Regions from separate parts of the Homo sapiens genome. Here region 2 is linked to region 1. Evidence: promoter capture Hi-C in human tissues and cell types (Jung and others, 2019). All regions are on one chromosome and are shown on one strand. Each heading gives the region's core, a stretch centred on a gene start or on the middle of the fragment in contact. The rest is flanking DNA. Distances are from core to core; before and after follow the strand shown. Region 1 holds the start of SLC10A6 (solute carrier family 10 member 6). Region 2 overlaps PTPN13 (protein tyrosine phosphatase non-receptor type 13).

Region 1 (5,536 bases), core at 2,160-4,659:
AGATGCCTTTTGAGTGTGTGAGAATAGAAGATAATGTTAGAGATTAGGGATTAGTTTATTTCTCCATCCTTAAGCCAAATAGTGGTGTTTTACCCCTGAGCTATGCCTAAGTGGTTGCCAGTCTTTTCCGCATGGTCTTGCTCTTGACTGCTTTTCATTGCTTCCACTTCAGTGTGCTCCAGGGAAGGAAACGAGGACAGGTGGAGAATTAGATTGAGATTTAAATCCCAATGTTATAATTTACCTGCTTAATAATCTTCGACAAATAATATGGCCCCAATGGGCCTTTGTTACTTCCTAGAATAAATGTGAGGATTAAGTGGGATCTCATAATCTGCCTCACTGGCTTGGGATGTAAAGTTGGTCATGCTTTTTAAAATTTTCTAATTAATCATTTGAATCTCTACTTACCAATAAGGGCAGGAAGTCTGCGATCCTGTATTTGAAATCTTCTTTACAAATTGACCGAGAACCCTAAGTGCTTACTCTTCCCAGGAAAATCTCCTTCCCATCTCCACTGGGGAGAAACTTGGAAAAGCCTGACCAGCCCGCTGGTAGGCCCTGGGATCACTGCGGTTGTTTCTGTTGGGACCTTTTGATGCATTGGCCCCACCCAGTCCAGTGGGCCTTTATCCATTGCCACCCTGTCCCTTCCGGTCCAGTCCTGGCACACAACATGGCGGTGTCCAAGCCTGGGCTCTCAAGATGACTTCTCTTCAGGTCATATCCATATACTTAGTCATTGTGTCCTGTGGCATCTGTCCAGGGTGACTGGACACAGAGGAACCTGTCATCAGGCAAGAAACCCCTGTCTTTCCTGGTGTGTGTTAGGACCAGCTGACCTCAGTCGGAAACATCCTAATTCTTTTGAGAAATTCTGATAACACTACTTTTTTTTTTTTTTTTTTTTTTTGAGACGGAGTCTCGCTCTGTCGTGCAGGCTGCCAGGCTGAAGTTTGGTGGCATAATCTCCGCTCACTGCAAGCTCCACCTCCCTGGTTCATGCCATTCTGCCACCTCAGCCTCCTGAGTAGCTGGAATTACAGGTGCCCGCCACCACACCTGGCTAATTTTTTTGTATTTTTAGTAGAGAATGGGTTTCACCGTGTTAGCCAGGATGGTCTCGATCTCCTGACCTCGTGATCCACCTGCCTCAGCCTCCCAAAGTGCTGGGATTACAGGCATGAGACACTGCGCCCGGCCAACACTACATTTTAAAAGAGAAGTGGCCAAGGTCACCTTTCTCCCTCTCCCAGGAGGCTCCTTAAGGCTGCTATGCATATTTAGCCCCCTCCCCTCTATCAGCACTGAGTACCCAGCAATCACAAAAGTTCCCGTCACACCATTCTCATCAGAAATGGGGGTGCTTATACCATCCTTATCAGGAATGGAGGTGCTTATACAAAACTTAAATTTGTATAACTAAAAAGGGCGATTCAAGTGACTCTTCCTGGGAACAAAGAAGGTTGACACTTTGGGAGGCTGAGGCGGGCAGATCACGAGGTCAGGAGATCGAGACCATCCTGGCTAACACTGAAACCCCGTCTCTACTAAAAATACAAAAAATTAGCCAGGCATGGTGGTGGTCGCCTGTAGTCCCAGCTACTCAGAAGGCTGAGGCAGGAGAATGGCATGAACCCGGGAGGCAGAGCTTGCAGTCAGCCGAGATCGCGCCACTCCACTGCACTCCAGCCTGGGCGACAGTAGGAGACTCCATCTCAAAAAAAAAAAAAAAAAAAAAAAGAAGGTTGACTAAGGGGCTTTTGGACATTATCTAGGCAGACACCCCTGACCCCTTCTCTTGCTAAATAAGTAAATAAAGTTCTGCTTCACCAGACATAGCCACATATGTGTAAAGCACCTAGCCACCTGTATTGGTCTGTTTTTACGCTGCTAATAAAGACATACCCAAGACTGGGTAATTTATAAAGGAAAAAGGTTTAATTGACTCACAGTTCCACATGGCTGGGGAGGCCTCACAATCATGGCAGAGGGGGAAGGGGAAGCAAGACACGTTTTACATGGTGGCAGAAAAGGCAAGAGCGTGTGTAGGGGAACTCCCCTTTATCAAACCATCAGAACTTGAGAGACTTATTCACTATCATGAGAACAGCACGGGAGAAACCCGCCCCCATGATTCAATGACCTTCCACCAGGTTCTTCCCATGACACATGGGAATTATAAGAGCTATAATTCAAGATGAGATTTGGGTGCGGGGGAAACACAGCCAAACCATATCACCACCTCTGTCACCCCTGAGAAGTGCTCAGAAAATGTTAGCTGTCTCCCTCCTCCCTTCCTCCTCAGCCTGACCACACCTCTGCATCATTCAAGCTGGGAACACCTTGCCTTCCAGAGACCTTTCCCGTTCCTCAGTGTCCATTCTCTGCAGGGCTCTGCGTAAATACGCCCTGTGCTGACTGACCCCTTATACGCAACCTCCAGGGAGGCTGGATGGCCAGAGCTGCCTTCAGGGTTTGTTTGCCAAAGGCAGTTTATTCTTTCTTCAAATAGTTAGAATTTACTTCACATTTGAATCTAACTTGTATTTTTATACAGTCAGCATGTCCTGAGCATTCTGTCATGGAGAAGAATTTGCTCATCCATGAATAAACAATGCATAGCTAGTATCCCTCTTGAGACAGGTAGAGGCGTTTATGAAGTGTGCCTTGTTACTAGCCTGTGCCCCACAAATAAACTTTCTGCTGTGAGAAGGGGTGTGGCACCTGCTTTTTCAGAGGTTTAGTTTCACAGAACCATACAGTCCTTGGGTTTTGCCAGCAGTGCCTGCTTAGAATGCACAGAGGGGCCCTGGGCACTGTGGTCAGAGGCTGTCCTCAGACCCCATCTCCATTTCAGACCAAGCTCTTTACCACATCCCCTTGCAGGATTCCCAGATGTCCCTAGGAGGCCAGGGGTATGTATCTCAAAGTAGACTCTTATCTCCAAAAGCAAGTGAGAGCTCCCTTGAATTATTTTGGGTGAAGGAATTAGTTTTCACATGTTTCATGAGACATAATTAGGTGCCTAATACCATATTATTCTCACAGGTGTTTAATTATTGACTTTAGACACAAATTCTAATAGAACTAGAAGAAAAACTGAGACAAATTCTGAAGCTCCTTGAAATTATTCTTAGTCCCTCCTGACATTTCCTCCACCGGCGTTTTTTTTCTTTTTGCTCTATTTCCAGCAGACACGCTTTGCTAATGCTACAAGGTGTGGCTTTGGCTTTGTTGTTTTTTCCGGAGTTAGCTTTTCTGTCTGTGCATCCTGGCTCTTTGAAATCCCAACTGAATTTGGAGAAATTATTTCTTGGCATCCACCCTACTTTCCAGGGACACAATGTGATGCTGACGACATAGCCCGGTCACTCCACTTGACAACAAGTTTGTTTGTCTCATCTCACATACATATTCAGTGGTGAGTAAGAACAGAAGTGGAAAGCCTTACTTACCACAGTTTATTATATGTTTCATGCCTGTGATAATTACTTTTATAATGCCACTTGTGAAAAAATTGATCAGATTAGGATGAATCACCTTGCTGGCCAACAGTTATTGGAATGATTCTCCATGTGTGACTTCGTTGCACTATTACAAAATGTGGCAGGATAGACCTGCCCAGCCATTGTTGCCGATGTTCATTTGTAATGCTGCCTTAAGGAGATGAGGAGATGAGAGCCAATTGTTCCAGCAGCTCAGCCTGCCCTGCCAACAGTTCAGAGGAGGAGCTGCCAGTGGGACTGGAGGTGCATGGAAACCTGGAGCTCGTTTTCACAGTGGTGTCCACTGTGATGATGGGGCTGCTCATGTTCTCTTTGGGATGTTCCGTGGAGATCCGGAAGCTGTGGTCGCACATCAGGAGACCCTGGGGCATTGCTGTGGGACTGCTCTGCCAGTTTGGGCTCATGCCTTTTACAGCTTATCTCCTGGCCATTAGCTTTTCTCTGAAGCCAGTCCAAGCTATTGCTGTTCTCATCATGGGCTGCTGCCCGGGGGGCACCATCTCTAACATTTTCACCTTCTGGGTTGATGGAGATATGGATCTCAGGTAAGTAACCCCAGGGAAGCTCAGCAGTCTGTCTCTTATCCTGCCTAGGGGGAATAACTGAAACTCTTGTGTTAAACACTCTTCTAATCTTTTGGTAGAGATTCTAGTGGGAAATGTTACAAATATCACAGAGACTTGTTCAGCCATGGGTGGGCTTTCCTTTCAGTGCTCAAAAGTTACTTTGCTGATGATCATTTTCTTTATTGGCTACTGTTCTGAGCAGTGGGATGCGTTCTGAGCAGTGGAGGCAGGTCTGCACCTCACCCAGTGGCCCTTCCTAAGCTTGAGCTCATTCTTACCTACACTGGCCTCTTTAGCAACTCCTAGGACTTAAACCAAGAATCCCAAGAAGCTAACGATTGTGGTTTGGTAGCAGCCGTCGTGGTTGTGTCAGTGGCATAGTCAGAATGAGACTCCCGTAGCTCCAGTCAGTGATGCCTGAGCACCTACTTTAGGAAAGAAGCACTTTAGAGGACTGGATAAAGGAGCTTTAGGGGTGTCTGGTGGCCATATCCAGCTTTAAGTGCTGAGATGGCTTGTCGATTTGACTTCAGGAGCAATGCGAAGGCTCTCAGGACTAAAATTGTTCTTTCTTGTTGCTTTGCAGATCGTTAACATCATCACTAGATTCGCATTCCTTCCCTTTAAGCCAGTGACCTTATTCCCAATTATGGTGTAGATAAATACCTCTGGGAGACATTAAGCCTTGTCCCTTATTTACACTTTAATGAGGATGAATTAGTCACATGCTTTTCTGGATTACATGTTTTGATGGGGGAAAAAAAGAGCATTTGAGGAAAGAGTAGAGGGATAGCACTGGAAAAAGAGCTAAAAACAATGGTCTCTCGAGACTCTTTGCTTACTTGTGAACATGCCGTTTCACTTCCTGCCCTGGGGAAGAACTGCTTATAAATTTAAGTATTTGTTTCATGTGTATGTCATTTAGTTGAGATTCACTTTACCATGAATGAATGAATCAGAGGTAATGACTGAGCTGGGAGTTGACATCAGTGAGAGTCAGCTGCAGGTATGTGTTTCCAGTTTTCCGCTTGTGCTGAATGTTTAGCGTATGGAACATATTTCACCTATAAATTTTAATGGGCTCATACCATGCAGAATAGGAACTAACTTTCCCAAGGCAGTGTTTTTGTTTACCCACTTATGAGAGATTTGAAAAAAAAATAACTTGATGAATTTTGTGTTTTACCTTAATGGTAAAAGCCACTCATATACAAAGCCACTAATATACACTGCTTTTGTGTTTTACCTTAATGGTAAAAGCCATTAATATACATTGCTAATTCAAATTCAGTAAAGTTGATTATTTAACTGGGAAATGATAGATATTCTTTGCATGAAGTTCATAAATCAGAGATAAATTCCAGGACCTAAAAGTTTTTGGAAAGAAAAAGGAAACTAATATTTATTAAGTGCCCCATAGGCATGGGATAGATGCTTTCATGCTTATTTTCTTCTTGGGGC
Region 2 (5,536 bases), core at 871-3,370, 61 kb after region 1:
TTAAATGGTCGGTAAATTATACAATTGAATCTTTATCAGGACAAATTTTCTTAACAAATAGGAAATTCCCTTGAAGGCCCTGAATTATCTGGCCCCTGTCTACTTTTATAATCTCCCCTTTACCCAGTGGCTTCAAATTCATGGGTCTTTCAGTTCTTCAAAATCACTCATCTCTTCCTACCACAAAGCCCTTCTAAGGGTGAATCCTTACTAAAAAATTCAGCATTGTGTCTTCTCCTCCTGAAGATGTTTTCTATCCACCCAATCTAAAGCAGGTTTCCTTGGTTATTCTTTTTGTGTGTGTGTGTGTGTGGCACTTAAAAACAACAAACAAACTTCACAGACCTTAACACAACTTGTAATTACATATCTATTTGTGTGTTTGATTTTTTCTCCTTTCCTCTCCATCATTAAGCTCTACCAAGGCAGGAATCATGTCGATCTGTTCACCACTGTGTGCCCACACACACTTATGTCTGTGACATAGGTTATTTCATCCATTTAATAAAAATGACACCTGTAATATGACCTTTCAGTTACAGACTTTGTAGAGTTAAAAAGTACCATAATTAAATTACCCTGATAATAATTTCAATTTAGTTGATGTAAATGTAGAAGTTCTACAGTAGAAGAAAAAAGGTTTTAATCCACTGTCAACTAAAAGGAAACTCATCTCTTTCGAGAAGCTGCTCATTTTAGTCTGGATTAAAATTTTTTTCCAACTAAAGTCATTTGGATTTCTTATTCCCCATTACAATCCTGGTCTAAGAATATAGTATGTGTATAATGATTTTAGAAAGTACAAAGCCTTTTATAAGAGTTAAGTGCTATTATAAATATGAAAATTTTAATAACACAATTATTAAATGAAAATGGTGAGGTAAAGCTCAATTAGAAATAAGTTACAGTGGGGCAACCTGCTTGGGTCCCCTTCCACACTGTGTGTGGAAGCTTTGTTCTTTTGCCCTTCACAATAAATCTTGCTGTTACTCAAAAAAAAAAAAAAAAGCTACAGTGATACCTGTATTAACCAATTACCACTATTTTTGTAAAGTTCACTTGTGTATGGGGGAGGGTTGCGTTAAGAAGATTGGCCTTCAGTTTCTTGTCACTATGGACTGAAGGACCTTTGGAAGAGGAGGCAGCTGTGGTACTGCCTCACTGAATATATTTAAGATTTTTTTTTATCGTGGTCAGCCCCTTTGAAGGTTATTTTACAATCCTAGTGCTCAAGGAATCCAGATCCAGTAACTTGAGAGTAGAGGAGACATCTCCTTGATCTAGGACGAACTACCTAATTTGTAGTGCCAAGAGTCACATGCAAATAAGGTATCTCTTGTTAAAAACTTACTAAGAACTTCAAGTTGGTGATAGCACAGCACTATAGCATATTAGGAGTAGGAGGCTCTTACAAGCACAGGGTTCTGTGTGATTGCACTGGTTGAATGCCCATAAAGCCAGTCCTAAGATCCAACCAGTCAAGCAGGATTATCCTCAGGTGATGGAGAGTCACTAAAAGTTTTTGCCTTGTTTTTGCTTAAGAAATTAAAAACACTACATAAGAAGACAATGTTTGAAGAAATTAAAGCCATTAAAAAATAACCAGAATTAGAAAGCATATTGATCCATTTCAGTGGCAAGAGATGTGGAAAGATCAAATTCCTTGGCATGGCATGTAAGTCACTTCATGAACTAATACCTTGCCTATCTTTTTAGGTTTAGCTTTCAAGACACCCTGTGATACCCTACTCGCAATGACTTAGTGTCCTGAATGTTCCAGGCTCATCTATGCCTTCATTCCTCTGCTAAAGCAGCTCCACGGTATGTATGGAATGCTCTTTCCTAGCTTAACTATCAAATACCTTTAAGATGCTAATTCTTTAGAAAGCTTTAATAACTTTATCCACCTACTCCTGTGTAGCCCCTACCATTTCCCCCCTTCTTTGTAGGTCCCACTGAACTCCATATAAACATTTAACAGAATATGTTTCTATAGCTTTTTAAAAATTATTTACTTATTTACATGTGTACTTCCCTCAAGCTGACTACTAGACTGGACAAGCAAATTTAGGACAGAAACCCTAACACCTCTTCTTACCCTATTATCCCCAGCAAAATTAGTCAGATGAGTTCAATAGCTGAATGGTTTTGAAACTGTAGACAATAATTTATAGTAATGTATACGATTAGCATTCATTCTTTCATTCTTAAATGAGACACAGGCATTGACCTGAAGTACTTCACTAAGAGGTACCAAAGAGTACAATTACAATACTGAATAAGAAATACAATGAATGTATAAATAGCTATCAGAGGTATAATCTTTCTTCTGTAAGAAGATATTCCTATACTTTTGTAATACCAATGGTTAGCATCTTAACTTTTGCCACATGATAAAACTTTCAAAGTTACAGAATATACTGTTAGAACCAATTCAGTAAATAATATACAATTTGTTTAGGGTGATTTCAAGAACTTACAAAAGATTATTGTCAGAAGTTCTAAATAATTTTTAAAACTAGCCAGTTCTAAAATGTAGGTAATATTCTAGAAATACAAGATGAAACAGAAAACTTTTCCAGAATACCAGCTTGGTCTTCTTTTCAGCTAGGGGAGATTAGTCATATTTGCAAATTTTAAATTTGTCTGCTTATGAATATAATTGCCATAGTGATTTAAACGTGTTCCTAGAATTAGATACAAATAAAATTTTTAAATGTTTTAATCTAAGATCCCTGTTACTCCTTTCCTAAATTTGTTCCCTCATTTTCTTTGCTTTGTTTACCATTATTTAAAACAGATTCTAAAGCAAAAGTCCCATTTATTCAGGAAGCACTAATTTATCTAGCCCAAAATGTATTCTCAATGCATGTATTTGCAGGATCTATCTGTACTCCAGTGGCAAGACAATTATATAGTTCCTAATAATTTGTTTCCTCTTATTGATAAGAAATCTAAAATTCATTAACAGATGGCCAATTTAATAAATTATGGTATAACCTTACAATAAAATGATAGGAAGGCTTTAAAAAGTATGAGGCAAATTTATACGTCTCACATGGAAAGAGGGTAATGATTGTTAAGTGAAAACCAAATTCAGAACCATGTGATAAAACGTATATTAAAAAATTATGTATGTATACAAATATTTATGTTTTGATATGCACAGTGGAAAGGTAGAAATCAAAATTTTTAACAATAGCTACCTCAGATGAATAAGATAAATATGTTTTTAAAAAGGGACTTTTTTTTTTTTTTGAGACAGAATCTCGCTCTTGTTGCCCAGGCTGGAGGGCAATGGCGTGATTTCGGCTCACCGCAACCTCCGTCTGCCAGGTTCAAAGGATTCTCCTGCCTCAGCCTCCCGAGTAGCTGGGATTACAGGCATGTACCACCTTGCCCGGCTAATTTTGTATTTTTAGTAGAGACGGGGTTTCTCCATGTTGGCCAGGCTGGTCTTGAACTCCCAACCTCAGGTGATCCGCCTACCTTGGCCTCCCAGAGTGCTGGGATTACAGGCGTGAGCCACCATGCCCGGCTAGGACTTAACAGTTTTGAAGATTCTGTTGGAAACTTTTTTACAATAAGGATGTAATATTTTCATAATGAAAATAATAAAAAAAAGATAACTTGAAAGAAGTTTTCTGCCATAAAACAGTCATAGCTCAGTATAAATGAGAATCTATATTAACAAGCTTTCCTTACTTTTTTAAAAGAAAAAGCATGTGACATGACTTTTTTTTTTTTGAGACTGAGTCTCGCTCCATTGCCCAGGCTGGAGTGCAACGGCATGATCTCCGCTCAATGCAACCTCTGTCTCCTGGGTCAAGTGATTCTCCTGCCTCAGCCTCCCGAGGGGCTGGGAATACAGGTGTGCGCCACCACATCTGGCTAATTTTTTATATTTTTGGCAGAGACAGGGTTTCACCATGTTGGCCAGGCTGGTCTTGAACTCCTGACCTCAAGTGATCTGCCCTCCTCGGCCTTCCAAAAGTGCTGGGATTACCGCCATGAGCCAACGCGCCCGGCCTACATCACATTTCTGAAATGGCAATTAAAGATTTTTATTTTCTTAGTTAAAAGACATTACAACATACATTTTAAGGGGCATTTTAATATTACTATTAAATATTAATAAAAATGTGATAAAGTCATGACTTAAAATGTTCAGAAAATCTTCTCTAAAGAGCCTATTTTTACTGTAATTATTAATATTCTGATTATATGAAAGAGCATCTTAAGAAAAACCACTAGCGAATGCCACATTTTGAGATATCTAATATTTGTATGATTATTCTTGTAGCTTGAGAAATACATACTTATCAGCCGTAAGCTTCCTTGTATATATACACATTATTTGTAAATATTTAATGAACAGTCATGTATGGATGAGATTGTGTGTAAGTATAAGCATGCATGATAACTAGTGTAAGAACATTCAAACCAGCACAGTTTTAATAATTTTGAAGATATGAAGTAGGAAGACTAAGAAGGATAATGAGGAGAATTATCCCAGAATATTAAGCAAGGTCAGATTTGTATACATAGGGTGATGCTGAGCTTGAAGAACCTGAAATATAATTTATCTACTATTTCATGCTTTTCCTTAGCCTAATATCCCAGAAGATCCTAAGTTTTAAGGTTTTAAAGAATAATTTATAAAGTTTAGCATTACATTTTTGAAAACTAATTGTTTTTTTTTCTATTTTTTTTAATTTGAGAAAATTTGTGTAATGATTCTTTCACTAGGATAGGATGACACTTTAATGTAACACATGAAATTAATCTCCGTTTTCCTCCTAAATTTAATTTTTGAGTAAAACAGGAAAGAATCTCTGATTATTTCACCTTCTGGGTTAAACCCATAATTGTAACAAGCTGTCATATCCTAGGTTGTTTAGGTATTATTGTTACCTCAGTAAAATACTCAGGTAAAGGTGAACCATCGCAGTCTGTATCTTCTGTTCTCTCTTCTGATAACTTCCCATTCATCTTTAATGTACCTGAGAGAGGAATATATAGGCCAAGAGGAATTTATAAAACTATTGAGGAAGTAGAAAAGTTTTCATTTGCCTGCAAAAGAAGGCAGTGTATAAACCAATATCCATAAATAGTTTCAATGTTTTAACTAGAAAAGTTAGGAAGAAATGATCAAGTACATTTTGGTATAAAATTTCTGGTTAAAATTATCTACTAAAATTAAAATGAGAATGGCTGGGGGAAAATGTTTGGACTAACCCTACTAGAAGTAAAAGCCATGATATAAATGATACATTTGGAGATCTCACTAATAAGGTAACCCACTTACAAATATGGAAAATAAAAAAAATAGGAGATAACAAATTCTGTTTTGTTTCTGAAATATTACACATGAATGAGGAACAGAAGAAGAACTAATGCATTACATATTTACTCAAAAAATGCTCCCTAGAGACGTTTTTGTACTCCATAGTATACCAATTTATTCATCTGGTTCACGTACCTGGACCACAGGAGTATCCTGCTGCATTATTTTCGTTTAAAAGATTCTGGGCTT

The links. The method cuts DNA at HindIII sites, captures the fragments that hold promoters and counts their contacts. A contact is called where the count stands out against the background at its distance.
Region 2: a fragment that was not itself captured here is called in contact with the fragment with the promoter of SLC10A6 in region 1 in 1 of the 25 tissues and cell types used here (pancreas).

Annotation. Positions count from the first base shown.
Region 1 is chr4:86,847,257-86,852,792 of GRCh38, reverse strand. SLC10A6 (solute carrier family 10 member 6) reads left to right here and starts at 3,409. Exons shown (of 6, transcript NM_197965.3): 1 at 3,409-4,054. The coding sequence starts at 3,678. The HindIII fragment of the contact is 7,017 bases long and covers 1-5,439 here.
Region 2 is chr4:86,785,315-86,790,850 of GRCh38, reverse strand. PTPN13 (protein tyrosine phosphatase non-receptor type 13) reads right to left here. Exons shown (of 48, transcript NM_080683.3): 39 at 5,483-5,536; 40 at 4,915-5,003. Among named protein-coding and RNA genes, the nearest start is that of SLC10A6, 61 kb to the left of the region's middle. The HindIII fragment of the contact is 3,788 bases long and covers 227-4,014 here.